Linked DNA regions of Homo sapiens: all the other regions are linked to region 3. Evidence: promoter capture Hi-C in 16 types of primary human blood cells and fetal thymus (Javierre and others, 2016). All regions are on one chromosome and are shown on one strand. Each heading gives the region's core, a stretch centred on a gene start or on the middle of the fragment in contact. The rest is flanking DNA. Distances are from core to core; before and after follow the strand shown.

Evidence for each region. Contacts are between HindIII fragments. The CHiCAGO score rates a contact against its expected background, and 5 or more counts as called.
Region 1: a contact is called between a fragment that was not itself captured here and the fragment with the promoter of ITPRIP in region 3, in 1 of 17 cell types (monocytes). The highest score is 6.1, in monocytes.
Region 2: a fragment that was not itself captured here is called in contact with the fragment with the promoter of ITPRIP in region 3 in 1 of 17 cell types (neutrophils); the score reaches 5.7 in neutrophils.
Region 4: a fragment that was not itself captured here is called in contact with the fragment with the promoter of ITPRIP in region 3 in 1 of 17 cell types (M2 macrophages); the score reaches 7.2 in M2 macrophages.

What each region holds. Positions count from the first base shown.
Region 1 is chr10:104,111,912-104,119,373 of GRCh38, forward strand. No RefSeq gene overlaps it. Among named protein-coding and RNA genes, the nearest start is that of SFR1, 6.5 kb to the right of the region's middle. The HindIII fragment of the contact is 3,064 bases long and covers 416-3,479 here.
Region 2 is chr10:104,574,837-104,582,351 of GRCh38, forward strand. The region is part of intron 1 of LOC105378464 (a long non-coding RNA gene); the gene reads left to right. Among named protein-coding and RNA genes, the nearest start is that of SORCS3, 63 kb to the right of the region's middle. The HindIII fragment of the contact is 1,619 bases long and covers 4,658-6,276 here.
Region 3 is chr10:104,335,084-104,342,784 of GRCh38, forward strand. ITPRIP (inositol 1,4,5-trisphosphate receptor interacting protein) reads right to left here and starts at 3,382. Exons shown (of 2, transcript NM_001272013.2): 1 at 3,163-3,382. It also overlaps a transcript of CFAP58 not described here. RefSeq lists enhancers at 2,060-2,259, 5,008-5,302 and a cis regulatory region at 4,525-5,944. The HindIII fragment of the contact is 4,481 bases long and covers 1,724-6,204 here.
Region 4 is chr10:104,556,123-104,563,640 of GRCh38, forward strand. No RefSeq gene overlaps it. Among named protein-coding and RNA genes, the nearest start is that of LINC02620, 80 kb to the left of the region's middle. The HindIII fragment of the contact is 4,146 bases long and covers 1,081-5,226 here.

The sequences.
Region 1 (7,462 bases), core at 698-3,197, 220 kb before region 3:
TAGTGTACATTCCCTTAACTGCTACCTTGTGCTTTCTTCTCTATGACCCAATAAGAGTGGAAAATACCAACCTATGATGTTATATATACCTGTCAATCAGCCCTTAGGAAAGTGTTTAAAAACCTCTCAATCATAAATCTATTATTATATCACCCAAGGGAGATCTGTGTTCTGTTACCAGGTTTGTATACTTATAGAATATATTTTACAGAGTTAGTTTTAACAATTTTTTAAAAATGTTGATTGAAAAGCGAAAAGAGTCTATCGAGATTATTGTGGCGACAATAAAATACAACTCAAATACCATTTTTTCCACGAAGTCTTCCTTGACTCAATCTTCTCTGAACTCCCTTAGGACTTTCCCTGTGTATTCTTAGCACTTCATCTTCTGCTTGAACCCAAAAAAAATCTGCTAAGCTTTTTGTTGTGGGGGTTGCAGATATAGAGATCAAAGACACAGTTCCTGTTCTCAAATAGCTCATGGTAAATATGTATTATGACACCTACAGGGTACCATGGAAAAGGAAAGGCATCTAACTCTAGCCAGAAGATTCTGAGGAGGAAAAGAATAAAAGGAGAATGTGGGCCATTGGGAAGCAAGTGAGAGGGAGTGGGGATTTTGACACAAGGTCCTAATCTTGAGATTGGAGTAGACATTAGCCAGGTGATGAAAGCATATGTGTGTGTACATTTGTGTGTGTGCGCACACACATACACATGCCTGTGTCTTCCAGGCAGAAGGAAGTAGCAAGATGATAAGGAGAGGAGCTTGGTCCATTCTGGGAATTTTAAGCACATAATTCGGTAAAGCTGGTGTGCAGGGTGGGTGGCAGGGAGTGGCACAAGATGAAGTTGGAAAGATATGCATGAGTGATTTGGTAAGGAATTTGGATTTATCCTAAAGAGAATTGAGAGTTATTGGAAGATTTTAATATCTTTAAAAAGATCTTTCTAGCAGCAGTGTAGAGAATTGATGGGCATGAGAAATGGGATGGTATAGGAAAAGTGGAAGAAAAACCCAGAAGTCAGGAAACCAGTCAGGAGGCTATTGCAGGCAGGCAGGCTGGACCTGAGCTCGAACAGCAGCAGTGATGTTGAAGAGGAGTGAGAGACAGGACATATGCAGGCAAATAAAGTGGAGAAATGAAGAAAATCAAATAGTAACCTCAATTTTTCAGATAAAAAAATTAAACTTATTTACCTTGTTATGTTATCCCTGAAAGGATGCACATTTCTCCACCTTTTTCAGAAGTTGTACTACAGGTATACAGCACAGTTTGCAGAATTAATAAAATCAGGATTCATTTTTAAACTTTTATTTTACTTTAATTGACAAATAATAATTGTATATATTTACGGGGTACAATGTGATGTTTTGATACATGTATGCATTGTGGAATAAAAATTAGTATTCTTTGTATACCACCCAACATATATCTATTTCCTGCTGTAATATCTGACTTGTTTTCCTTAGGCTGAAGTTATGGTTGGTTTCCACAAACTTAATTTACTTTCACTCTATTTCCTGGCTACACAGACTAAAAATTATACTACCTCTCACAGAAGATTTGGGTAAGGGGGAGAAAAGACAAAGCTGTTAAAACCCATCCCATTGTGAACAAAGGCACCACTTTCAAAGATGGCCAATATCATCATCTGGAAAGGAACCACATGTTTCCTGTATGTTTCTAGTCTGGTAAAAGTAATCTTCCTTGGTCCAATGACAGAACAATACAAAGCAATGATAAGAAATAATTAGAAAACATACAGCTGAACGGTTTATATTAGATTTGAGGAACAGTTTTCCCCTTAGAGAAGCTGTTACACAAGGTATCAGTTGCATCAAAAATATTCTTCCCTGGAGACTGCTACAGCATCACTTCCTCTTCTTATTTTGGGATGCTCACTTTCTGAATTACTGATTAAATAATTAATCAATTCATTCTGAAATTCACCCATTCAAAACATTTATTGAGCACCAACTCTATGCATCCAGTGTTAATAAAGACAGGGACATGAGTTCCAGAAGATGACAGTACAAGTAAGCAAAATAACTTGGAGTATGCCCTGCAATGGCAAGAGGTGGTTGATGAGAGTAGCCTAAAACCCTGGGCTTGAAAGGGTTCGATTAGGATAATGTGGGAGGCCTGCGAAGAGGAAAGAAAGGTCACTGGAAAAAAAAAAACAAAAACTTCTGTGTGCTAGTTTTTCCCAGAGCTGGCTCTGGTTTAATCAATGTGATAAATACTGGTGTCCATTTGTAAACTCCTAAAGAATATATTTATTTTTCCGTCTACAGCACCTAATACATCTTCCATCATATTATCATAATGGTTATTTCTATAGAGAATTTTACCCGTAACTTCATTTAACACTCTGGTGGGAAGTGGTAATTTCAGGTGTACCAAAATGACCCCACCTGGAATTGTAGGAACTAACTCAGAGCCAGGGAAAGATCACTTTTCTCTTCACAATTTATAGATGAGAAAACTGAATTGAACCCCCCAAAGTCAATACAGCTCGTTAGTTTTTAGTGATAGGGTCAGTAAATAACTCAGATGCTCTGACTCAGGCCTATCCCTTGCTGCAGCCATATTTCCAAGAGAATGAATGACTTGGAGAAAAATGTTGTAAACATCAATGAGTGTCATTTTTATTCACCAAAACTTGTATTCAAACAAAAATTCCAAAGACTTCCCAATTTTCCTCAATTTAAACTGACAACCCATGATTATCTCATGTTTAGTACAGATTTAAGCAACCTCACCTTCACAGTTTGTGACCACAGCCCATTTCATCCCCAATTGACTCCATACAGCAAAAAAACTCAACAAAGACAAGATTTGGAATGAAAAAAAAAAAAAAAAAACAAATAAGTAAGGTCTGTGGCTTTATGGCTTTACTCATTCAAAATTTCACCTACTGTGAAATGGCTTATCTAAGTTACAAGGTATAATCAAGTTTAACCTGATCATTATAATATTCCACCAGTGCTAAGAAAGTACACATGTATCTGTAATGCATGCTTATACCTGTATTAAACACAAAATCTTGAACTTCCATAATCCTTTTAACTCAAATGTATCAAAAGGCCTTAAGAACATGACGAATACATTTCTCATTAAGAAAGAAATCATGACTTTGTCAGAATTTAGCCCAAATTAAGCGTGCCCAGGATTCTTGGTGTTTGAGCTGATGCTGAGGCCTTAAAACCCAGGTCAAATCTGCAGAATAACTTTAGTATGGAGTAAACAAGCCTAGTAATCAGTAATTTGTTATGAAAAACATCATTTTGGAACACTAGTTTTTGTTCTGCTTAAGGGCAAGAAACATGTAGTAAATATAGCCCCCTTCCCTCCCTTCCTTCCCTACTGCCCCTACCTCCTCAATTCTTCCCTCTCCTCCTGCACAATTCTTGGCAGAAAATATTTGAACACTCAAGACAACTGACTTCAGTTATGAACACAGTAGTCCAAGAAAGCTTCCTGTAATCTCAGTTTGAGCAGTTATTGATTGGAAGTTGAGGGGTTTCTAAGACTTGCCTTGAGAACTGTTAGTTAGTATGCAAATGTTTAATTTCAGCTTCATAAGTATTCTCATTAGTCCATGTAATTCTTACCTGTAGTGGTTCAAACCTGTGATTACATGCTATTTTTTACCCATCAAAATCAAGTCACTATAGGTACTGGCTTACTGCATCTAGTGCTTGATATGTCTGAATTTCTCTTTCTCACATTTGATTTGGGGACTTAATCCCATTCTGAGCACGAAGGAATTTTATCTAGATTGAGGGGAGCAATAAAACTGATTCTTCTCAACTATAAAAATGAAAAGTATTCATAGACATATTGGTGGGCAAATGTGGTTGATTGATTCATTCCAAAAACTAGTGACTGAAAATAAACTGCTATCCTTGCAGACAATTACTGAAATAAAACACAGTCAGCTTTACATCTCTTCAAAACCTGTGGGAAACAGCTCTGAGTGAAAATAATATATACTGGTAAAACTGCTTTTTTAAATAAGAGAGACATCTTGCAAAAGATTCAAACTCATTCTTTTCAGGGCAACTTAATTACACAAGCTTTATGCTAATTATTGTTACATTAAAGATTTGGCAGCTTTACAAAAATCCTAAACTTGTACATGCAGGTTTAAAATCTCTATTTTAATTCTCCAGAGTTAGACTAGGAAAGCATTTCAGACAATGCCAACCTGTAGTAATGCTTGCTTTTTTTTTTTTTTTTTTTAACCTATCGGTACCTCATAGTTTCATAGGAATTTGCTTAACAAATCTGGACGTAATTAGTTGCCTGGCCTCCAAAACCCAAACCTGTATTCTTTGGTATCATGGGATGCTGTTTGCCAAATGACAGGCCTCCAAAAGCCTGACCATCCTAAAGACCATCTTTGCTGGTGGGTGTTATTCCTGTGCTTAGTATGAATTCCCTTCACACCAGACCTTCAGCAACAGAGGTGTGTTTTCAATATCCAGCATTCATAAAAGGGTGTAGATTCATGTCATACCAGAGCAGAAGAAAGGGAGTAAACAGTAAAATGGAGATATATTAAGCCATCATTCCCATGTAGTAGGGAGTGTTAGAAAACAATTGTTTAAATCACCCTTCTCTTGATTAAAATAATAATAATAAAAGAAAGGTTTCAAAGTGGCTGTAAGAAGAGGACAAGTTGACTCAGAGGTAGGTACTTAAATCAAGTGAAAAATAGCTTAGATAATGTGCTTGATAGATGATATAACAACCAGAGTGGAACATAAGGGGAAACTTTGTGGGGTGGGACAGTTTGGAAAGGTTTGAATTAAAGGTTTACATTGTTGAAGGAAAAGTATTATCTGTCTTAATCTTGTGCTAATAAAGTCTAAATAGCTGGGTGAAATCTTAGAGGACTATGTCAGAGTGAATGATTTTTTATTCTATACTTCTTTTCCAAGATCCTATTTCTGTAAGAAAGACATATTTTTAGTATCTGTAAGAAAGACATATTTTTAGTATCAAAAAGTAATAATATCACTTGCCAGTTGAGGATCACCAGCATCATCATCAAACTTTATACATTATATGTGGGTAGCCACAGATGTGTCATGGAGGTGGAGAGCTGAGTGATGTTGCTGTCACTGACAAGTGGTATAATTTAGACACAGTATGGGGGACATGAGCACTCGACACAATCTTGCAGGTGGAAGGGAGAGGATCCATGAAGAGGTGTCTTTGCTCAAGCCACCTTGCCCGTCTTTGATCATGCCTCTCCACCTGGTCCTCACGGGGGCTTCAGAAGTTCTGGTCAGGGGCTCTGCATTCAGCAGGTTTGACGCTGCTCCTAAAGGTTGATGGTGTTAATGTAATGTTACTTTGCCTTTGGGAGTGGAGACGTAGTGTTTTCTCCTGATTGGTAGAGTGGTGGGAAAGGGATTAAACTTCATTCTAGCTCTCAGCTCCTGACGTGAGCCAGAAAATTTCTGGTTAGGCTAAATTCACAGATTTTCTCTACTATACTTATCATCAAAGTTTGCCAAGAGGTGGAAGAGCAGAAGCACGAAGATCAGTAGTATCCTAGAATATGGTCTCTTAATTCCCTATTTTCCTGGCACCTTTAAACACCCTTGCTCCCCCGTCTAAAAAATACCACCAAGAAGAAACCTTTTATACCCTCAAGACTGAAACAGGAATGAGAGGCAAGGGTAGAAAACTGAGATGACTTGTTTGTCGGCACTTTAAACAGATTTCAATACTGTGAAATTATCTTGGGGGTTGTTTCCTCAAACTTCAAGGTATTTAAAGATGATTAAAAGACATGTTCTCTTGCTTAAGGATTTGCTGACATGTAATGCTTTTTTTTTCCTCCAAATAAATGCAGGAGTGACATTTAATAAAGAGTCTGAGAAGAACATGGCCCTGAGCAGTACTTTTATTCCCATTACCTTTTAAGAATCTAACTCCTATGCCACTATCCCTCCCCCTCCACCCACTTGCCCTACCTTCTCCCTCACCATTATTAATCTAACCTGAATCACTCTATTCTTCTCCAAGGGAACACACCCAGTAACAGCAGTGAATCATAGACACTATTGCCTCTCTAGTCTCTAATGGATTTGACAAAATGCCAGATCTGGGAGAATAAAAGGACAGGAAATTCAGGTGAAGGGAGCTTTTTAGGTTCTTGTTTAGTACATTGTCCTGAATATTAGTTATTAGATACATTTTCTAGCTGCCTGGTGATGGAAAGGTTTCATTGTGCTAATAATACTGATCCTCTCCGTATCTCCGTGTTCTAAGTAACCATCCTACTCAGTGAGGCAATCGCTCCGGCATGCCTAACAGCTATGTCAAGGGCCCTTTTCTCTTGAAGTTGATAATAAAACCCTCTCTTGCATATCTTGGCTAAAGAATATGAAATAGTTAAATCATAAAGGTCAATGTTTGGTAACAAAGTCTCTACAAGTGCAGCCATTACACATTATGGAATTCCATGTGAGATCGTTAAGGTAATAGAGAAAAAAATAGAAATATTTGTCAATTATTCTCAAAGAGAAATTTATGAAATTACACAGCACTAAAACATCACTTTACCATGGATGGGTCTATAAGATGCGACTTGAATTCATGGCAAGAGAAACTCATAGAAGAGTTTTTGAAGGGCATTTTCAACTTATGTACAAATGTCATAAGAAGTGTTGAAAGTCAGTTAAGAGAATTTGGCAGATTTTCTTGTGTTATAAATTTGTATTAAATTTAGTTTGTTTAATTTGTCCTAATGGACATCATAAATCAACAGAATCATGTGGATTTTACACAATTCCTCACCCAAGTGGATTTTAATCCTAGTTTCAGAAGCGTATATTTTTATCTTTGTTTCTTTTTTTTTTTTTTTTTAGAAGGAGTCTCTGTCGCCCAGGCTGGAGCGCAACGGTGTGATCTCGGCTCACTGCAATCTCCGAATCTCCGCCTCCCAGGTTCAAGCGATTCTCCTGCCTGAGTCTCCCAAGTAGCTGAGACTACAGACGCCCACCACCACGCCCAGCTAATTTTTGTATTTTTAGTAGAGACAGGATTTCACCATATTGGCCAGGCTGGTCTTGAACTCCTGACCTTGTGATCAGCCCGCCTCGGCCTCCCAAAGTGCTGGGATTACAGGCGTGAGCCACTGCACCCGGCCTATGTATTCGTTTCTTTTAAAAAAAAACCTATGGATACTAGTTATGTCTACATGACACAAAAATTTTTGTCAATACAGAAAAGTCTATGGTAATATAATTTAAGTTAGCTTGAGACTATTGTTAAGATTAAAAAATAATACTAAAGCTGAGAATTTAAAAATTAAAATGAACATTTTAATTATGGCTAAAAAGTACGTGTGTTTGTGCTTTTTTGTATAGGTAGAGAGAGAGACTGAGAGACTATTTACTATTCTTTTCTTGCCATTAGACAAGAATAAGAATAAAAAA
Region 2 (7,515 bases), core at 4,217-6,716, 240 kb after region 3:
AAACTATTTATTGAAAAGGAGACTGTTTCTTGCATGGAATAATCTTATTGGGAAAGTTACCTTATTTCTTCTACTGCACTTGAAAAATCTAGATCATTTGTAAAAAGCAAAGGGCAAAGCAGAAATTGATTTTTGTCAGCATGAGGTCAGTTTTTTTGTACTTTGATTAGTGGCTTGAAGCTGGTGGTGAGTCATGTGACAGTGCTGGTGTTTTGGGGCAGGGTATTCAGACTGAGATCATAATAGCTATTTCTGACCTTGACTTTGAGCAGAACATTGCAGGAAGTCTTATGTCACCCTGAAGTCTACAGCTATTTGCAACCTTCTGATATCTCTGATTGACTGCTTGTATTAAGCAGTCCCCCTCTCCTCCCTCACTGTGCCATCCCTAGACTCTAATGTTCTGAATGTATTAACAATATCTACATGGTGAAGCCCATGCTCCCTGCTCTAGCATTGGAGGCCTTCTAAGGACTGACCCAATCCAACTTTGCCTCCAGCCAATCTGTCTCCTGCTTCCACGGTATGAACACTCTGCTGCTATCAGTAGCTCTAGCTTCTGAGCACACACACACCTGGGCACATCCCAGGGACTCAATAATTTCTGCTCCTCTATGCACTGTCCACTCTGGTAGGAGGTCTACACCTTTCTCACATGTGCCCTCAGAAGTCACACCTGCCGTTGTGCCTACCAGTCGGCCTTCTTGGTTCTCTGTGTACTCACTGTCCTCTGAATGTGAGCCATTTACCATACCTGCCATCTAGTCGGCATGGGCCTTGTGCCTTGAAACAGCCCATATTTTTGGTGTGTGCATTGACCTTTCAGCAATGCAATGCTACGCTACCTACTGGAGAGAGAGAAGAGGGAGAGGGAAGGGGAAAGGGGGAGAGAGAGATTTTTGCCTATCTCCCCAAAATTTGTAAGTTGAAACCCTAACCTCAGTATCTTAGAATGTGACTCTATTTGGAGGCAGGGCCTTTAAAGAGGCAATTCAGTTAAAATGAGGTCCTTAGGGTGAGCTCTAATCCACACTGACAGGTGCCCTTATAAGAAGAGGATATTTGGACACACAAAGAGATACCAAGGATGCTTGTGGACAGACAAATGACCAGGTGAGCACACAGTGAGAGGGCAGCCGTCTGCAAGCCAAGGAGAGAGGCCTTAGGAGAAACAAACCCTGCTGACACCTTTGTCTTAGGCTTCCAGAATGGTGAGAGAAGAGATTTCTGTTGTGTAAGCCACCCAGTCCTGGCATTTTGTGATGACAGCCCAAGCCGATTAATGCACTCACAGAGAATGTACCCTGCAGTGAATGTGAAATCAAAGGTGTGAATCTGCTGTTCCTTGCTCAGGCTTGGTTCCCACAGCCTTCCAGGCGGGGGATCATCTCTCCAAGCTGGGTGAGAACCAAGTGTTGAACCATTAGCTAGCTAGCTCATCTAATCTATATCTTACAACCTCGACCCCAAACACAGCTACCTTAATCGGGGGCTCCGTCAAAGAATCGGTGATCAATTCCAATGCTGGCTGGGCTGGGCCTACTGGAGATGTCACTTTACTGACTTTTAATGGCTAAGGAATTTTTGAGGATAATGTTAATTACGTGTGATTTTCATCTTCAGTGATTACCTAAAAGGCCAGCTCCCAACTCCACTTAATGGTTACATAAATGGAACCCCTGTCCTGGCTGGCCCACATCATTGTGGCCTCTTCCCATCCACTCTCCAAGCAGCAGAGTCATCTTTTCTAAAAACAGTTCTGATTAGGTTACCTCCAATCCCCACTTCTGCACCTTTCCACCAATAAAAACCTAACATTATTCCCTTAGGAGAGAATCCCCAACTACTTTTACAAGACTTGTGAGGGCCTTCGGGGTCCAGGGTCTCACCAGCTTTCCTTGCCTCACTGGCGGCCCCTGCATAGTGCCCCAAGCTCCGGTGTAGATGGTTCCCCCTGCCTGGAACACTGTCTCAACCCCTCTCACCACATTCTCTCCATTTCATCCTTTAGACCTTTGTTCAAATGTCCTTTGCCTGGGGTTCTGCTGAGAGCCTGGCCAGGCCCCATGTCCGTGTCATGGGCACCTCTCACTGGGCCCCAGCTCTGTGTCATGGACACTTCTTACCTGGCTCCATCTGCCTGTCATGGGTGCTTCTAACCGGGTACATCTCCCTTTTCGCATTTGCCTCAGAAGCAGTTTCACAGTTGTCTGTGAGATGAGTGGATTCCTTTGTGTTTCCATAAATTCTAAATTTGATGTGGTAGAGACCGTGTCTGTTTTGTGCCTGGCACACAGCAGATATTCGGTAGGTGCTTTATTGAGCAAATAAACAAACACCCATCTTTTCCATCTCCACGTTAGTTCTTCCAAAGTAGAGACCACCTCCTGTTCATCTTTGTCTTCCTGTCTTAGAGATTTCTTCACTAAATCCCATTCTTTGATAGAAGAAGGAAGTGGAAGAATTACCAGGACTTACACATAGGAGGCTTTCACTCACTGAACCGTTTAATCACAAGGGCGGTGCCAAGACTTCTGCTCCCCACTCTGGGGCCTCAGGGCCACTCAGCCATGTGCAGACAGTGCTTCAGCAACGCCTGTTTTCTTCACTCTTTAGGGAGTTTATGATTGTTTAAGATTGAGTGCTTACAGTGAGTAAAAGCGATCTGGACAAAAAATCTTCCCATAAAAGAACAGAATGTATGCTGGATTTCTTTCTCTCTTGTTTTATGGGTTAGATTTCTTTTCTTTTTTTATTTTAAAACAGAGTCTCTGTCTCCCAGGCTGGAGTGCAGTGGCACCATCACAACTCACTGTGGCTTTGACCTCCTGGGCTCAAATGATCCTCCCACCTCAGTCTACTGAGTAGTCGGTGTGCACCACCATGCCTGACTAATTTTTGTATTTTTTGAAGAGACAGAGTCTTGACATGTTGCCCAGGCTGGTCTTGAACTCCTGGTTTCAAGCAATCTGCCCTCCTTGGCCTCCCAAAGTGCTGGGATTACAGGTGTGAGCCACCGCGCCCTGCCTGGGTTAGCTTTCTAATGGAGGGTTGCTTATTTGCGATTTGGGAGCTTTGCTACAAATGTTTATTGAGTGTCCTCTATGTGGCAGGCACTTATGAAGGACAGAGGGGGAAGTAGGTGAGGATAGGGAGTTGAGGGCGAGACAAAGGGAAGTGATGCTTTTTGAAAGTCCAGGCTATTGTGCAGTAGATCCCAGTGATGAGCTCTCAGAAAATCAGTGTCAGTGACTGTAACTTACTTTTCGCTATGGTCAAAAGTTTGTCTGAAGGCCTTGCCCTGTGTGGGACACTCAGGCTCAGAACACTTGCTTGGATCTGGCTGATGCAATCCCAAGAAACTCCAGTCAGCGTTCTCTCCCTTTGAGCCAGTGCCTTCACTTCCCCGAGCCTGTCTCCCTCATGTTTCCATCAGACACAAAGGACCGGTCTGTCGATACTCCTGTCTGTCAGTGACAAGCAATTGGTACCCGAGCCTGGGGTGGGACTTCTGATCTCAGCTTGGGGCTTGTTGATGAAGTGAGGACTGCTGTTCTCTCGGAGCACCACCAGGACGCCTCTCAGATCACTGTTTGAGCCCAGTAAAGGGACGAATCGTGCTCATGTTTATTCTGCAATTTCAAAGGCTGCCATCTAATGTTTAAGAGTGCAGAGACTTTAAATGAACAAACGGTTTGGTGGAAAATAAGAGATGCACATTGCCATGATTTGCTACCTGGTAGATGGACTTTATTTTATGTGGTTAAGGTGCAGAGCTTAGAAGGCTCTTCAAGTACAGGTAAGATTTGGAAAGTCACCACTAGGCTCTAAATTTGGGGAGCAGTGCCTTATGCTAATGATGTTTTTTGTAAAAAGATGGTCTCCTCTTCATCACCAGATTGTCCCTTAAATTAGCTAAAGCCCCGAGGCCTTAAATTAAAAGCAAGAAATTACAATGTAGCAGATTGAATTTAGGTTTATGTGCCGCGTGTGAAATATATGAGTGGCTTTTGAAAGCATAATTGTAAATGAACAGTGGGTTCCTTATGCACAGGCAGCATCCCCTGAATGTCTGGCTATTTGCATTGAAAGCCCACTTTCCACCCAGTTAGTGCCCCCACACCCACCCTCCCTTCCCCATCGCCATGACGCAAGCCAGACTGCACTGTCACGACCACACTGAAGCCTATGCTGACGCCATCATATCTGCTGGAACCTGCTCCCAAATTGCTCTCTCTGTTTAACCTGGTCAAGGCAGATCCAGCTTTTTGGGGTCCCCTCCCCTTCTTGGCCATTAACAAGCAAGATATCCAAGAAGGAGTGAACACCGAACTCTTTATCACTCCTGGGCTTGAGAATCTTCCTTTTTTTCTTTGCTTGGGCCTGAGGGTGCCTAGGAGGCAACATAAAATCTTGCTTTTGTTTCATTTATAATTGGTGAGTCTGTGCTCTCTGGGCAAAGGCCAGCGCATTCTTGGAAGGGGTTTTTAACGCTGGATGCACATTAGAATAAGCTAAGGAGATTTCAAAAATGCCGATGCCCGGGTCCTGAGCCATAGAGATTTCAATTTAATAGGTCTGGGATGGGGCCTGACTGTTGAGGTGTGTGTGTGTGTGTGTGTGTGTATGTGTGTGTGTGTGTGTTTATGTGTGTACAAGCTTTCCAGCCCATTGTAATGGTCGGCCAGAGTTAAGAACTACTTATTTGGAAGAAAAAGTTGTCCATTTTCACTGTTACTGTTAGGCAGATTTTCTTTAATCAGATTAAAACCATGTGATAGCAGACAATGCAAAATTAGCTGTGCAGAGAGAGGGATTTAAAGGATCCAGGCATTTATGACAAAATCAGCCATGATCCTTTTTTTACTGTACTCAAAATAAGACATGTAGAAAAAGCTGAGCCTTACAGGAGACAGATACAGTGTCCTTGGGCTTGGGTAGGGCTAGAAAGTAAGCAGCTTCAGGGCCAGGTGCAGTAGCTCACGCCTGTAATCCCAGAACTTTGGGAGGCCAAGGCAGGCAGATCACTTCAGGTCAGGAGTTCGAGGCCCGCCTGGCCAACATGGTGAAACCCCATCTCTATTAAAAATACAAAAATTAGCCAGGTGCGGTGGCAAGCGCCTGTAATCCCAGCTTCTTGGGAGGTTAAGGCAGGAGAATTGCTTGAACCCTGGAGCCGGAAGTTGCAGTGAGCTGAGATCATGCCACTGCACTCCAGACTGGGTGACAGAGACTCCAAAAATAAAAAAAGAAAAAGAGAAAAAGAAATAGAAAGCAAGCAAGCAGCTTCAGAGTGGGAGGCTGTAGACGTCGCCAACCTTTCCTTGAAATCAGGTTTATGCACTCATTTATTAACTCATTCATTCATACATTGCCTCTTTATTAAGTACCTCTTTGGTACAAACACTTCGGTAGGCTTGGGTGCAAAGGTGAATGTCTTCCAGATAGGAATTCTAAAAGAGTTGGAAACTCAGGAGATTAGGGTTAATTTTCGTAATCACAGATACTTGACTTTTCACCCGGCCTCCCATTCCTTTGTCAATGCCAGAAGCCAGTGTCTGCTCTCGAGCTTCCCGGCGCGGTGTGAGGGGGGAGGAGATGGCAGCACCCCCACTTTCTGCCTCACCACTTGCCGAGTCTTGCCGCTGACATTTTCTCTGGTACATTTTCGTATGACGCCGAGCAGCATATGGCACCTCTTTGTCAGACACATTATCTCAAGCACGTCCTCACTCCCATCCTGCCTGACTCATTTGGGGATTACAGAAAGTTCGTAGGAACAGACAGGGGTGCAGAGGCAGGAGAAACATTGTAGAATTTGTGAAGATTGAGTACTGGAATACACTTTTTTTTTTTTTAAAGCAACAGAAAAAGTACAGATCTCATGGTATAGCTTCACAATACCCTTCCTCGGATGGCTGGGAAGGAATCATTATACTCATTTTAACAATCAGGAATCTGAGACTTAGAGAAGTTGACTGTCAAGCATTTCTACCTGGATGCCTCTTCCTGGGGGTGGAGGATGTACATCTCTAAGATTGGCACCTGGAAAGACTTCTTATTCCAGTTTCAGGCTCCGCTCTGCAGAGACGCCAGAGCAGCCTACAGTCCCGTCTCCGCCGGCTAACCAGACATGACCACAAGGGGGCACCAAAGAGTTTTCATTACTTCCGCAGGTCTTGCTTTGCCTGCTTTTTCTGCGGTGTGGTGGCACATAGGTGCACAATGAAAAGAAAACAGTGTGAACTTAGAAGAACGGACGATGTTGGAAGACAAAGCTTAAGCCCCAGGTAGAAAACTGTGACTAGCAGTGGTGGCGATGACCCTAATTTTTCCATTGATCAGGGGGGTGGGGAAGTGTCGCAAGGTGGGGTAAACTTCAGATCCCTATCAGGACCCTGAGGTGCCATATGAATGTTTTCATTTTTCTTCGAGAAAGCAAAGGAAGATGGAGACTAATGCATATTAAGCAGGCATTTGTTTAATCAGTCCTTCACGGAGTGTGTGGCAGGACGTCAAGTATGGAAGGTAGGCTGAGGCTTAGTAGGACCTCGGTAGGACTGTGGAGGTCACGGAAGGGGGTCTGGGTTTTATTCCAAGTACCATGAGGAGTCCAAGCCCGCGGGTAGTGTGACCTGTCTTACCTTGGGATGCTCTGTGAGGAACAGGCCATGGAGCACAGGTGTGGGTGCAGTAGAGGGAGGGGCCATTGCAAAGTCCAGAGAGCCTAGAGTGGCCTTGGTGGAGATGGAACGAAGCAAATGGACTTAGGACATCACTGGAGTTGGGACTGGCAGGGCTACTAGTGGACTGATACCGGCAATGTGAGTGAGAAAGGGGGGAATCAAGAGACCCTCAGGTTTGGGGTGTGGATGGTGGTGAGACTGAATGAGAGGAGAAGGGTTGTGGGAGGACCAGGCTCAGAAGGGAACTGGCATCTCTTTCGGCCATGGCAAGTGTGTGATGCTGCAGGCTCCCACCTGGGGAGGCCTGGCGGGCAGCTGGATTTACAAGTCAGAGCTCAGGGGAGAGGCCAGGGCTACAGGTAGGAATTTGGCACTTTCATTTTTTTTTTTCATTTAATACTCACATCAGCCCTATGTTTCAGATATTGTTGCTCCCATTTCATAGACAGGGAAGCTGAGACTTAGGAAAGAGGAGGTAACGTGGCTCCAAAGTAGTAGAGCTGAAATTTAAACTGGGTCTGTGTGATTCAGTCGCTGTTTCCAAGGTGTCTCCCACATTCTTAACTGATTACCATTAGGGAAAAATCTACGTCTTATCCTGCCTCATACAGGCATTCATTAAGTATTGGTCATCCCTGGTTACACCACTATACTTTAGCCTTCCTTCCCTCAAGAAAAAAAAAGCATTAGTCAACCCAAATGTCTAGTTCTTTAAAAAAAATCATTTTAACCCAACAGATCTTGTTTTTTTTCCCAACTAAATAATAGATTATCTGAGGGAAGAAAAAAAATCATGCCTTCATATGTGCAGATCCCAGGCAGCATATGG
Region 3 (7,701 bases), core at 2,132-4,631:
CCTCTGAGCAATCTGCTGGGCACCAGCTGGCCCCTCCCAGGAGGCATCTTGACTTCCTCACTGATGAGAAGCCTATTTTGTTTAAAGTGCCTATCGACAGTACATAGTGAAATGCTCGGTTCCAGCTAATTAAGCGCTCAGCTGTACGGTGTGGAAACTAAGAGATCATGTATATGGAACTGTGAAATGGAGTTTCAGGAAGGGTTCTTGGACGAACTTGAGAAGGGCATTTGTGGGTGAATGGGACTTCAACAAGGAAGCAAGAGACCACAGATGGGGATTAGGGGTTTGGAAGGTCAGGACAGTTGTCTCACCTCCTTCCACTCGCTCTCTGCCTAGGTCAGGACCCTGCGTGCAGCCACCGCCGTTTCCCTCTGAGCCACACCTGGGGGCACTTACTCATCACCCTCATGCCAGGCCCCAAACTGGATCTGCCACCTCACACCGCCCAGAGATTAAGGAAAGTCACTTGATTCTTGGGCCAGGCTCCCCATCAGCCATCAAGGCCCGGCTTGCCTCTTTTCTTTCCTCCTCTGCCTCCTGCCAGATGAATTTCCCCTCCTTCCTCCACCTGGACTGAGAATGGGTATTTCCTCCTTTGACAGAGAAAGAAAAAGGCAACTGTTCTTCCCCCTTTCCCACGAGGGTTCCCAATTAAACTAGCTTTTTAAGCTTAAGTTGCTTCTTGGTCTATGAATGCCCAGTGATTAAGACTCACCTTCCAGGCTCTGGAACACTTAACATCCCTGTGCCTCAGTTTCCTCATCTGTAAAATGGAGTTAACAATACCTAACTCATACGGCTACTGTGAGGATTAAATGAGTTAATACAGGCTAAGTACTTTTGGGGAAAAAAAAAAAAAGCCTGGCGAATGTTAAGCCCTCAATAGTGGTTGTTTATCAGGGCTGCTGTGTGAATGGTGGACCAGGCAGTGTACTGCTTAAGGCACCTGGCTGAGGGGTGAGGATAAATCCAGCTCACATGCCACTTATCCAGCTATATGGCTTGGCTATGTCCACTCAAGTAAGGCCAGTATTTCTAAGAGGCATCAAGCCCCATCCTCTTGCCAAGACAGAGCACCTTATTCTAATTCATGCGAAGGACTGAATAGGCTAGCAGCAGCCCTGGAGGTTATCATGAACAGTTCTCAGCATCCTCCTGGCTCTGTACCCCTCCCCAGCAAGACTGGATGAGAGAAGGGTCCAGGATGGCCTGGTGTCATCCATAATAAAGTCCTGCTTCTCAGCTCCCAGAACACTTGGAGCACCCACCCCTTCCAAGCAGATTCTCCATTAAAGCCCCACAGGCTGCCGTGCCACCTCAACCCTACTGGGGCAGACTCTCAACTCGAAACATGGAACCTGAGTCTTGGACTCTGAAAGCACCTTCTCCTGCCCAGTTATTTTTTTTTGGGGGGGGGGGGGCAGCGGGGCATTGGGGGGTAGGTTAAAGACAGGGTCTGAACTCTGTCACCCGGATGGAGTGCAGTGGCACGATCCTAGCTCCAACCAAGTGATCCCAACCAAGTGATCCCAGCTCTAAGCCTGGAACTCCTGGGTTCAAGCAATCCTCCCACCTCAGCCTCCCAAAGCTCTGGGAAGACAGGCAGCCACCCAGCCCAGACTCTTTCCTAACTGTTGATGGCTACCTGTCTCTGCTGATAGCTGTGAAAGGAAAATACAACCTTAGGACCCCAAGCTCAGGATGCCAAAGGGAAAAGTTAAGCTTGGGAACTCAGTCATGCAAAAAACAAAACCGAAAACAAAACTGCATTCCTTTTGTTGCCAAACAGATAGCTATAATTTCACATGCTTACTTTATCTTACGTAAAATGTAGATTTACTGAGCATGAGAAGAATGCACCCAGGGAGAGCAGAGAGTCAGTATAACTACTTCATGGTTACCCACAAGTGGAGAAAATCCGAAGGCAGAATGGCCCAGAGCAGCCGCAACATACAGGGAATTAGCAAACAATGAAAGCCACTTAGGCACGAGGGCTGGAGGGAGGACTCAAAAACACAGCCTATTCTGTTTTCGTAAGGAGGAAAGACAGTAATCCACTTTTCTGATACTCTATTTTCAGGGCTCACCTGGGCCTAAAACTGCACCAACCACAGATGAACTTTAGCTGGCAGTCAGATAGACTCGGTTTGTAAAAGGCAAGAGCACTGGGTCATATCCAAAAAAAGAACAAGAAAATAGACCGCGACCCCGATTTAGATCCAAAAGACCAGAGTCCAGATTGCGACCAATATCTGGTACTCTACTGTTTGTGAAATGAGACCAGTATCTGGTACTCTACTAGTTGTGAAAGGGTGCTTTTCTCATACCAGCAGAGGGGCAAAAGGCAAAATGAGGCCCCTGCCTGGTTCCGTAAAATATTTTACCTTCCTGGTCGGTGGCTTTTTTTTTCTTTTTCTTTTTCTTTTTTTAAGAGAAAGCGTTTTGGATGGGGAGTCCCGCCCCGGGAGTCTTCACCAGGCGGCCAGAATGGCAAAGTCACAGGGATGGGGTTGAGGGTGGGGTTAGGGGTGAAGGGGCAGAGAGTTATTTGCAGCCCAAGAGCAAGTCTGCACAGCGTGAGGTCTGGCCCACTAATAGTCCCGAAAGAGGAAGCGGCGGGGATTTTATCCGGCCTGAAGCAGCCCCATAACTTCACTACCATGAACCGAGAAAAAAAAACTTCACGCCTATTCCTCCCTTACAGGAAGGGAGGGAAGGGGAAGGGGAAAAGGGGGCAGCAAATGAGCAGGGCGAACCGGCTTTTCTTTCTTCGGTAGCGCTCTGCTCAGATGTGAGAAGTAACGGGTCACCTGGCCACTAGGAACAAAAATGTGGTCCCGCTCTGGGCTCCGAGGCTGCGCGCGCCTCGAGGAGGAGCTGCCCGCAGCCCTGGCTGGAGCGAGCGCCCGGGACGCATCCCCCGACGCGGCGGGAACAGGATGCGGGACCGCGAGGAGACAATACGCCCGCCTGGGCACGCGCGCTTTAAGGGAAGGGGGTCTCCAAAGTCAGCCCCCACCCGGGAGGAGCAGGCGCCCGCGCTCCCCACACCCTCCTGCGCCCCCTCTGTCGGCAGCCATCTCCGACACAGCTCCTCCGAGCTCGCGCTCTCCATCGCGCCCTTCTTCCTTCAGCACACTAGGCTGCCCTGGGACTTACGATTGGCTTGGGTCCCCGGTCCCGGTCCCCGCCGCGGGAGGACGGCTCCAGCACAGGCTTTGCGCGCAGGTCGAGGGCCGAGGCGCCGCTGCTTGCAGGCGGCTGCGGTGGAGCTTGCGGCCCGGCACTTAGAGGGGCGCGGGCGGCGATGCCCCCGCTGGCTCCCACCTTCTGGCCTGCAGCGGCCGGCTCTACTGAACTTCAGAGTTACTCATTTCCTGGATGTCACAAAAACTTTTTCCTCCTTATAAGAACAAAACACCCGCCTCTACCCGCGGCCCCGGAAGCTCCTTAAGGAGGACCGTGTGGGTTTCGGTGGTTGGGCCCAGGATCCGCCGGGAAGACCTTCCCAGTGAGCCCCCAGAAACTTCCCCGGCACGGCAGAACTGGAGAGTGACTGGGAGAGACGGAATCAGGCCAGTGGAGTAAACTGGAGCGAGTGGACAGGGGCGCGGGGAGGACGCCCTTAAAAGTCGTCCTAAGCCGCGGAGCGGAAGGGGTTAAGTCCTTACCAGTCGGGGAGAGTTTTCTGCGGCGCGTTTTACAAGTGGCGGAATTCCTGGGGCCACCTATTTAGTCTCTTGGAGGAAAATATAACTCTAGACAAAACGCCAGCCTTTTTCTCTTTTGCAGCTTGAAAGGATTAAAATAGCTTACTACCGTTTTTTTTTTTTTTTGAGAAGGAGTTTCGCTCTTGTTGCCCAGGCTGGAGTGCAATGGTGGCGCTATCTCGGCTCACCGCAACCTCCGCCTCCCGGGTTCGAGCGATTCTCCTGCCTCAGCCTCCCGAGTAGCTGGGATTACAGGCATGTGCCACCACGCCCGGCTAATTTTGTATTTTTAGTAGAGAAGGTGTTTCTCCATGTTGGTCAGGCTGGTCTCGAACTCCCTTCTCGGCCTTCCGAAGCGCCTGGGATTACAGGCGTGAGCCACCGCGCCCGACTTTTATGATAATCAAATGCATGGTTGCTTTTCTCCGGGATTAACCGGGCACAAAGGAGAACAGTGACCGGATACTGTACGGGACAGGCGCGGTAGTTTCTGGTTACTGTTGTGACGGTAGATCAAGTGTTACTACCCCTATGTTAGAAACGAGAGAACTGAGGCCTGGAGGAGCAGCAGCAGCGTTCTGGTCGAGCTTAATAGTTTATGAAATCCATAACTTCTATTGTCTTCCCTTTGACCTGCCCAAATCCTACCATCAGTACAAAAGGCAGAGCAGGGTTTGAATGAATTCTCCATTAAGCGGCTTTGGGGGCACCAAATGCCAGTGAAGGCACATTGGGGAAATTGGAACACAGTGTCCAAAATGATCACCATTGCTACTGCTATTTGGTCTTAGATCACCTTTTTTTCGTCTTTTCCTTTAACACTCGCCTGGAAGACTTTTTGGCTGAGTCTGAAAGATAAACAGGCAATGAGAAAATGTTCTAAAAATAGACTCCCTGGCCCTTGGCCCAGGGTACTTTTGTTTTCAAGTTTCTACTGCTGCTCAAATTCTTTCCTTACGTAAGAGGTTATGGCAGAATTTTGGGGGCCAGTATGTGTGTTGGAGGTGGTGGGGGCGATCTGGGGAAACGGTCTTGAAAGAGCTGTATTTCCAAAATGTCTAGAAGTTGGTCCGGTGGGTTACTCACACCCTCCGCAAAGCAGGTGGGGGAAATTTCTGTGAAGTAAGAGCGCTGGGCTGAGCTTTGTCATCCTTGGGCTAAGAGTTCAGCGTTGTGCTGGAATGCCAAGGTTAGTGCTTGAATGCCCTCTGGGATTGTCATCCCGTCTGCAAAGTTGTTTCAGCAATTTCTAACCAGCCATGTATATTTATATAAGGAATATTTATTATATTTGTTTTGCTTTTAACCTGATGATTTCACCTTCTGTGTTCTGATTGGTTCCTGTCTGTTCTAAGGTCCACCCTTCTACCTGGCTTGTAAGTCGTTCATGAACTGGCCTCTGCTTATCTCACCAGCCTCATATCTCACTCTGTGTCCCACACAAAACTCCTTGCAGTTCTTGGAACCTGTGCTTCCCAGAACGTGATATGCTCTTTGATATGCTGTTTGCATGATATGCTTTTTCTCTCCCCTTGGATATTCATATGTACTCTACTTTCTGCCTGCCACAGCCACCCCACCTCCTCCTCCAAACTGTCACCCCAGTGCACATGCATGTTATTTTGCCCGACTAATTGTATGCTCAGTCTTCCTGTCTCAGAACAGGCAGTTACTCCTTCAGGAAGTCTTCCTGGAACCCTCATGTCTGGATTGGACACCCCTCCTGTCGTTTCTACAGAACACTGTGCTAACTCGAGAAATGTTTTTTAAAAGATAGGAAAGTACAAAGATTCAAGTTATGGGAACTTGAGGAGTCAAGAAGTCAGGGAACTCCTGCTTCGAACAGTGAAAGGCTGAATAAAATATATCAACAACGGAAGGGAAGAAAGGGGGTCTCCAGGTGTGAGATAGGTCAAGGGAACTCAAAAGCATGACATGAATATAAGCCCAAATGACTAAGGACCAGGGGTGAGTACCCACTCAGGGATTGGGGTTAGTATCTATTCAGGCCTTGAGTTCTATAAAGACAGGGATCTGGACTTGAGATCTCTGCCTAAGGCTGGAACCCTGGAAAGGCTGCCCTTTAGTAAGAGGAGGATAGAAAAAAGCCCTCTCCCCATTGGCTCAGGGTCGCGGGAAGGAAACTTGTGGTTTATCCCGGCCCTGGATGAATTTTAAAATGTCTTCTATAGAAATGAAAACCCCTAGCCTGCCTATACTATGCATAGGTGTGAGCTCCCAATTTATACTACCCACGTGCTGAGGGAATCCTAATGTCAAGAAAAAACACAAAAAACCTGTTTCAAAGTGGTGAATCCCCTTGGCCCTGTCAGAAGCAAACGTAAAATTCGGTTGTTTATCCTGGTCCCTAGCAGAATAAACAACTCCCATTGAAGTTACAATAAGAAATTAAAATGTTTCATGATAAGAAATTAAAATATTCTTTATATTATTTTAATTTCTTAAAATTAAGAATTATTAATAATCATTAAGCTTATAATAAAAAATTAAAAACCAGACTAGGAAATGAACCACATGAGGGTGTGAACTGGTAAATGTAATAAACAGGAAAATTAGCCCCTTAAGTATCTGAGACAATAGAACAATTTGAAAAAGAGTATCAAATAGTTATGGTCAAAATACAGAGATAAAATGATAGGACATAGGACTATGAAAAAAGAACAGGTAAATTTGAAAAAGTACAGCTATAATATGTAGAAATAAAAAGTTTAGTCATTTACATATAAAAAACCTCAATGATTGAAATTCTTTTTTATTTAGGCAGTTGGTAATATATCAGTCAAAAATCTAATAAAAATAGCTCATTGAAAAGGGGAAAGAAAAGTAATATATTATTGTTTATAAATATATAAATTATTTCAGAAATTTAAAATAATATATTAACAAATAGAATTCCAGCAGCACACCAAAGAATATTACATCATTAATAGATCAAAAGAGAAAAATGGAAAGATCATCACCATATATGCTGAAAAGCCATCAGATAAAATTTGGCATCGACATATAAACAAACCCTCTGTAACATGGTAAAAACAAAGGGTAAAGTTCAGCCCCCAAACCAGTGTTATGCTTAATGGGGAAATACTAGAAATCTTCTAAAGTCAGTGCAAGATATGAATGTCCTCCTTCACCCCTATTCTTTTTAAAAATTATAAATTAGGAATATGTTTGGCTGCAAGTAACGGAATACCAGACTGTAATTTTTATAGTGTCTAAGACTATAAAAGGCTTAAACAAATAAGGATTTGTTTTTCTCACATCAGAAGCTTGTATATAGGTGGCTATTTTGGGTCAGTGCCTTGATAGTTTCAGGGCTGATCAAAGGATATGTGCATTTACTATTTTGGTATATATTACAAAATTGCCCTCCAAAGAGATCTCACCAATTTGAACTATTTCCCATAGTATGATGATTGCCTTTTTCTCTACATTGTTGCCAACATTGGCTATTTTCTATTATAACTTTAATTTAGTTTGCTTCTTTTATAGGTGAAAAAAACCCCTAATCTCAATGTTTTGATTTGCAGTTTTTAAATTATGAGTGAGGCTGAACAGAACATTGTTATTGGCCACCTTTATGTGTTTATGTGTGAAGACTCTGTTACAACATCCCCCAGTTTTCTATTGGCTTGTTTATGTGTATACATGTGTGTGTGAAAGTAGATGGAATGTTCTTCATGATCATTTAAGTGCTAGATGAGGCTTCACATTCCATAGTGAAAGGTGACTTGTCAGCTGGGTGCTGTGGCTCCTGTCCGTAATCCCAGCACTTTGGGAGGCCAAGGTGGGCAGATCACATGAGTTCAGTTTTAGACCAACCTGGCCAATATGGCGAAGCCCCGTCTATACAAAAAAAAAAAAAAAAAAAAATACAAAAATTAGCCAGGTGTGGTGGTGCGTGCCTGTAATTCCAGCTACTCTGGAGGCTGAGGCACGAGAATCACTTGAACCTGGGAGGTGGAGGTTG
Region 4 (7,518 bases), core at 1,904-4,403, 220 kb after region 3:
GCTGAGGGTGGCTTTCAGAACTTTGTACTTAGCCTTGTATTTCCTGAGGCCTAGATCTTCACTCCAACTCCTGTTATGAAGGTGAGGGTGGAAGTGTGTGCAGGGATGAGCTTGGCAGCCTTAGTCCCTAAACCCCACATTACATCTGGAGTTTCTGGCATGAAAGCAGAGGACAATATTACCTGGCATTGAGGGCCCTTCTTCCCACAGTCTGAGCTCAACTTACCATTCTCAGCCTTGTCCCCCCAGTTCACCTGCACAAACTCCCACTCTAGCCAGAAAGGTTTACTCATGCACCCACGGTAGGACTACACACATTTCTCACTCACTTCCTGAACAGCTTCCTTCCCAATGCCCTGGAGCTCTCTTTCCTCTGGATTCTTGGGTTCCATCTTGTGCCTATACCTGTAAATCTCATGGCAGTGTCGGGCACACGCTGCCTTGGACCACTGGTTAACCTGGTCAGGTTTATTAACCAGCCAGATGCCTACAGGCTCCAGAGAGCTGGCTAAATGAGGAAAGCTGGTTATGGTAGGAACTGTGGTGACCAGAGAGCACAGGCCCAGTCTAAAGAATGCAGCCAATCTTCAATGGCGAAAGACTGTTTTCATGTTCAGCTTCTGATCCAGCATTGTCAGATTTTCTGATAGTTTTCAAAGGGAGCTTGACATCTAGATTTTAAAATGTATATAGTATCCTAATTTTTAAAAGTTGGAATGAATTCAATTTTCTTTAAAACCCTATGTGGGCCAAAACCCCTGTCTGGGGGCCACCATTTTGTTTCCTCAGTTGTAGGCTTTGAGAGCTGAACCCACAGACCCCAGCTCAGAACCCTGATTTTAAAGCCTCATGGAGCTCTTGCTGCCTCTCGGGTCCTGATCTGTCAGGTAGAGGAGCCAGCTTTACATGGCACCAGGATCAGAGAGGCCCAGGGGCCTCACAATCACACAGCGACCTAGGAGAGAGCCAGCATGAACTTGTAGCCTCTGGCCCAGAATCCTTTTTGCTAGTTCCACACAATGAATGGTGATACTGACTAAGGGCATGGTGCCAATTTCTATTGATCTTTACTGTTGTCCAAGCTTAATGAAAAATGGGGAAAACACCTTTCCCTTCAGAATGGATTAGATAAGGGAAAAGAATAAAAAAACTTCACTCCTGTTAGTTTCCACATCATTTTTGTATGAAAGATGCTTCCGAAATTTAGCACTGAAAAGACAGTTCTTGAGAAGCTGTATACCAGCCACTGTGGAACCCACGACCTAGTTCCTATCCTTGGTAGGCTTATAGTCACAGGCTCAAGACTATGAGCTCCTAGAGAAGGAACTCAGCCATACTCTGCATTGAGTGTCTCCCAGCCCTCAGCAATCTGCCCAGCATGTAACCGGGACTGAACAAATTGAATATAAACATGGCAACACAGGTGACACAAAATGAAGGAGAGGCAATACAGACCTTCCAACTAAACCATTCAAATAGTTTCATCTTGATGTAAGAATTTTATTCCTCATATGAATCTCATCTTGCATGTCATGGCATCATTTTCTCTTGGTGAGCATTTTCTCTTGTGACAGAGTAGTATCCTGAACTGATACTAAATAATATACCATTATTCAAGGTGATATTGCCTAGAAACCTGGCATGGGGCTGGGGGGAGTGATGGCATGAGCAACAATGGTAGAAAATAGGTAAAAGACTGTAGTTAATGCATCCCTTCTAAATCCTCCTCTCTGTTTCCCTCTTCTTAGTTTATCCTGCCTCCAACCTCTAAGAAATTCCCAGGAAAAATGGAGCATTATGGTGTGTCTTCCCATTTTCAGGACCTGAAAGATTGCTTGCTGTTCTCAGAGAGGGTATAAAAATTAGACCCTGGTGGAGGCCAGCTTGGGGTGTTGGATGAGCCTCTGACAGAGGATATGAATCTTGGCTGCAGGTGCTGGTGAAGGATGGTGAGGTTGACAAACCTACATCAAACACACCTCCGTTCTAGGGGAGCCATCACTCACCTCTCTGCACTCTGGTGGCCCATGCTAATGAGATCCCAGCTCATATACAACCCCTGCCCAAAAGCTGGGGCCCAGCCTCTCAGCAGACAGAGACAGAGTAGTCCTTGGAGGAACTATGAAGGAGACCGCGCTCAGCTGTATCTTCTCCCTACTCTCCAGTCCGCATTTGGAGTGGCGTTTCTGCTACCTTCCTCTGCCTCTGCGTCATCTTCTTAATTCCTTGCCTAGGGCATGGCCTCTCTCAAATGACTAAATAAATGTGGTTGAGTATTGCATCATGTGTTCTTCATTCCTCCTGGTGGCTGTTATATTTACAAGGAGACCCCAGGCATAAGACAAATGCTTAACCTAAGGAATAAATGTTTCATTGTCACATTTCAAGCACCTACTAGGAGGTGGTTTGGAAGGGATATTGACAGCCCTTTTGAAAATGGAAGTTCCATCACCTATTTACTGATAGGTGGTCCTGACCATCAGCTGAAAGGAAACTGAGTATAGATGATGATGAGGATGATGATGATGAAGAAAGAGTGACAGCAATGATGATGACGAGATGATGATACAAGCTAACATCTGACAAGTGCTTGCCAAACACCAGGCACGACATTAAGAGTTTACATCTACATGGGCGCAGTGGCTCACCCCTGTAATCCCAGCACTTTGGGAGGCCAAGGCGGGTGGATCATGAGATCAGGAGATTGAGACCATCCTGGCTAACACGGTGAAACCCTGTCTCAACTAAAAATACAAAAAAGTAGCCAGGCGTGGTGGTGGGTACCTGTAGTCCCAGCTACTCGGGAGGCTGAGGCAGGAGAATGGCGTGAACCCGAGAGGTGGAGCTTGCTGTGAGCTGAGATTGCACCACTGCACTCCAGCCTGGGTGACAGAGTGAGACTCCGTCTCAGAAACAAACAAACAAACAAGCAAACAAAAAGGGTTTACATCTACAAGCTCGTCTACTCCCATCAGCTCTGTTGGTGGGCACTCTTGTTATTCAGAAATGAAGACACCCAGCCTCAGAGAGGTTCAATAACTTACCTATATTGCTAAGAAATAAGCATTGATGGGAGCTGCCCTAGAAATCCTCCCTTTTCAACAAATAAGAAAAAACCAAGGAGGCTTAGGCTGCCATTTCCTTTGTGACGTATTTTCAAATCCCACCTAATCCTTCAGTGACATGGAGTTAAGAGCAACAACTTAAGTCCCGGGTTTGAATCCTGTCTCTGCCACTTAGAAGCTATGAGATTGAAGGCAGATTCTCTGAGACTGCTTCCCACTTTATAAAGTGGGATCAGCCTCATGAGCGGCTGTAATGATTCCATGGAGAACGCAGGCAGAGCCCTTTGCACATCCTCTGGCACATGCTGAACACATGGTATCATCACTCACTTCTGTTACACAGTGCATCACAGGCAGCCCCCACTTTCCTCTCCCCAATATTTTATGCATGTATTCATCTTCCCCATAAGTCTGTATCTGGGGGAAATTTTCATGTTTTATTCCTCTTTGAAAATATAGTCAATTAGATGGCTAGAATTGGAATAATAATAACAACAAACATGTATTGAATGCATACAACATGCTATGCACAGTTCTAAGTCCTTCCAACAACTGTGTTGTGTAGGTACTATTATGCTTGCTTTGCAGTTGAGAGTATCATGGCATAGACAGATTAAGTAACTCTCCTGAGTTCCTGCTACTGGCAAGCAGTGGATTCAGGAGTGGCTCCAGGAGGTCTGGATCCTGAGCCTGTGCCCATGATCTCTATTCCATAAATATTCTGCTTGCCAATTCTCATTGCCATTTAAATGTTTCAAAGCAGTAGGAGCTTGAGGCTCCCACAGGGTGGGCCACTTGCTCTACGTCACACAGTTAATTTAGTAGTGGAGCTGGGGCTGAAACTGAGCTCCCTGGACTGCCAGCCCGGTGCTCCTGATACGAGGTGTGCCCTGTCATATGGTATGATGATTCACTGGGAGAGAAGCTGTAGGAGGCTGACATTTTCCCAGCCTCATCTGTGTTTGCTGCCCACACATCAAGCCCTGAATGTCAAAGTCCCCCACGCTGCTATGCTGGAGGGGAGGAGGGAAGCCCACTCACTATTATTAAGCAATTAAAAATATGAGCAGAGCAAATGTGGGACAGTCCCACTTCTCTGACGTGTTGGGCAACAAGGTAGCTGGCTGTGTCCCACTCATACACAGAGATATTTAAGGGACTAAATGAAAAATAGCTCGTCTTGGCTCCCAGGGAAAGTGGTTTTGAGTACTGTAGATCATCACTGTCCCAGCTCTGCAACCCAAACGGCCAAACGGTCTGGGGGACAGTGGAGGAGTGGGGATGAAGGAGTGGTCCATGGCCTCTGAAGCACCATGGTTATATCACAAAAGTGGGGTGAGATCTGACAGCTTTCTCTGGGTCCATGGGTCTGTCTCTAAGCTGATGTGTTCCTCATTCTTCTCCCCTACAGAAATAAAAAAAAGTTACATGTCAGGTTGGACCCAAATCATTGCTATTTTTAATCTGTACCTATGGATGGGTACAAGATTTAATCTGTTACAGGAAGAAACAGGAACTGAGTTTGGTTGGTGAAAAGGCCTCCTTGGTGTCAGATCTGGGGTTCCTGCTGGAATCTGAACTCAGGTATTTAAAAGCAGGACCAGAGGATGGACTCCATGATTCTTTCCTATTCTCCTCCCAGACACCTTATCTGGAATATCCAATTAATAACCACATGTTTTTGTTCATTCCTTTAAAGTCTCTCTGACATCGATCCTAACCTTTGCTCTCCGTGTATCTGTGGGTGCACAGTAATCCTGTGGGCTGAGAGTAAAACTAGATGCCTTGATGGGTCATGGAATGGCATCAAAGAGGGTTCACCTACTCTGTGCCATAGAAGGCAGGATTGGAAATAAATCATTTGCATTGCTCCACATTGCCTGACACACAGAAGTTTTCAACACGTATTTACTGAATGAATGAGATGTGGGAGATAGGAGTTTGTTGGAAGTCCCTTGCTTTTTGCTACCCACAATTAACTTGATTTCAACTTAACAAATATCACCAAAACATTAGCTTGAATATGGCTTGTTGATATAAAAATTAAACAGTCTAAGTAGAAAATTACTTGTATTGGTGCATGCATGCACACACGTGTGCACACACACACGTGGTACACAGAGTACACCACTGCCATCTGGGATGACGGCAGAAAATGTCAAGCTTAAGTTCGGCAGTGTTAGGGTTGGGACAGGAAGGAGGAATAAGTCTTCTGAAACACTAAGAACTGTGTGCCTAGTAGGGCCCCTGCATGCAGAGAGGATGAGTGATTGGCTATGCAGACAGACAGGAGAGCAAGGGCTCCCCATGTGCATGGGGAGTTTGACCAATGAGACCAACTGTCCATGTTCCTATATCAGGATACAACTAAATCCATGGGAACGTGAATTTCAGCCAACTATTCAAGATGGAGCATCTTGGAATTCCAAGAAGAGCTCACTCTCTGCTGGTCATCTGGCTCTGAGCCCCTAAAGCTACTTGGAGCAGTCCAGATCCACTTTGCTTTAGGGTTGGTTGCTTCTATCTTTGTAACTCTAAAGGAGCTAGAAAGATTCTGTGTCTTTTCCTCTCTCCCTTTCCAGGTAAATAGAGGCGGGGAGAACAAGGAAAACACAGCATCATTTTTTTAACCTTTAATTTTAAACTAATTTTAGACTTACAGAAAAAATTACAAAAATAGTAGAGTTTTCCTGTACTCTTGTAGTTTTTTTTTTAAAATCAACAACTTTCATAGTTGTAGAACAATTATCACAACTAAGAAATTAACATTGGTATAATACTGTTAACTAAACTATAGACTTTGAATGTTGTTTTTTTTACTAATGTTCTTTCTTTTTTTATTCCCCAACTTTTATTTTAGAATCAGTGGTACATGTGCAGGTTTGTTACAAAGGTATATTGTGTGATGCTCAAGTTTGGAGTACAAATGAATTTTTTATCCAGGTACTGATCATAGAACCTGATAAAGCAGTTTTTCAATCCTTGCCCCCCTCCTTCCTTCCCCCTTTTTGTATCCCTCAGTGTCTATTGTTCCTGTCTTATGTCCATGTGTACCCAATATTTAACTCCCACTTGTAAGTGAGAACATGCAGTATTTGGTTTTCTGTTTCTGTGCTAGTTCGCTTAGCATGATGACCTCTAGCTGCATCCATGTTGGTGCAAAAGACATAATTTCATTCTTTTTTTATAGCTGTGTAGTATTCCATGGTATATATGTCCCACATTTTCTTTATCCAACCCACTGTTGGATAAAGGCACCTGGGTCAATTCCATGTCTTAGCTATTGTGAATAGTGCTATGATGAAGATACGGGTGCAAGTGACATTTTAGTAGGACTATTTATTTTCCTTTGGGTACATACCCAGTGATGGCATTGCTGGGTCAAATGGTAGTCCTGCTCTTAGTTCTTTGAGAAATCTGCAAACTGCTTTTCATAGTGGCTGAACTAATTTACATTCCCACTAACAGTATTAATATTCTTTCTCGGTTCCAGCACCCTATCCAGGGTCCCATATTATATTTAGTTGTTATTTCTCCATCTCCTGCAGTCTCTAACAATTCCTTAGTCTTTTCTTGTCTTTTATGACCATGACACTTTTAAAGACTATTGCACTGAGAATACAACTTCACAGCTGTGGTATTTTTCCCCAAAAATGCATAACTTCAGTTCAGTCATGAGAAAACATCAGACAAACCCAAATAGAGGGACATTCAACAAAACGGCTGATCAACCAACATTTTTTGAAGAAAACTCGAGCCTCTGCTTTTGTATTCTATTGTTCCTAAAATAGCTTGGGGAAAACTGCCTGCTGAGGTAGAAAATTAGGGTTTTAAAATGCAACCTCATGAGGGAGAAATGGTGCTTCTCTCTGGCCATGGAGACAGTCTTGAGCAAGCAGTTGAAGATGTGAATTCTGATCTCAGCTCCCTCATGTCACACAGAGGGCTCCCCAATGCCTTCCTGTAAAATGGAATGACCCTTTCTTATGTCTCCCAAAGGATGGTCTAAGGACCTGGTGATGCTGTGTGGAGGGGCTTAGTGATTCTCAAGGGGTGATGCTCATGGAGGGTCTTATCTCTCAACTCCACCAGCGATCCAACAAGATGAGAAGCTGGGAGACCCAGGCAAGCCAGAGCCTTGTTGGTCAATCAACTCCCCATCACTCTTAATTAGCTGTCATCTTCATGAGAAACCAGGAAGGAGAGGAGAGAGAAAAAATGTTCCAGATTTCTACCCCAGCCTTTTCTAAAAGCCTAAAAGAAAAGATCTTGTAGAATTTCATTCAACAAGTATTTTTGACCACCCACTGTGTACCAGGCACATTCAAGGGTTGGGCACCTGTGAGTGAAGGAATAGACTAAAATATCTGGCCCTTGGAGGTAATATGTTAGTGAAGGAGGCAGACAGTAAACAAAATAAGTACATAAATTAAGTAAATATTTGAAGGTGATG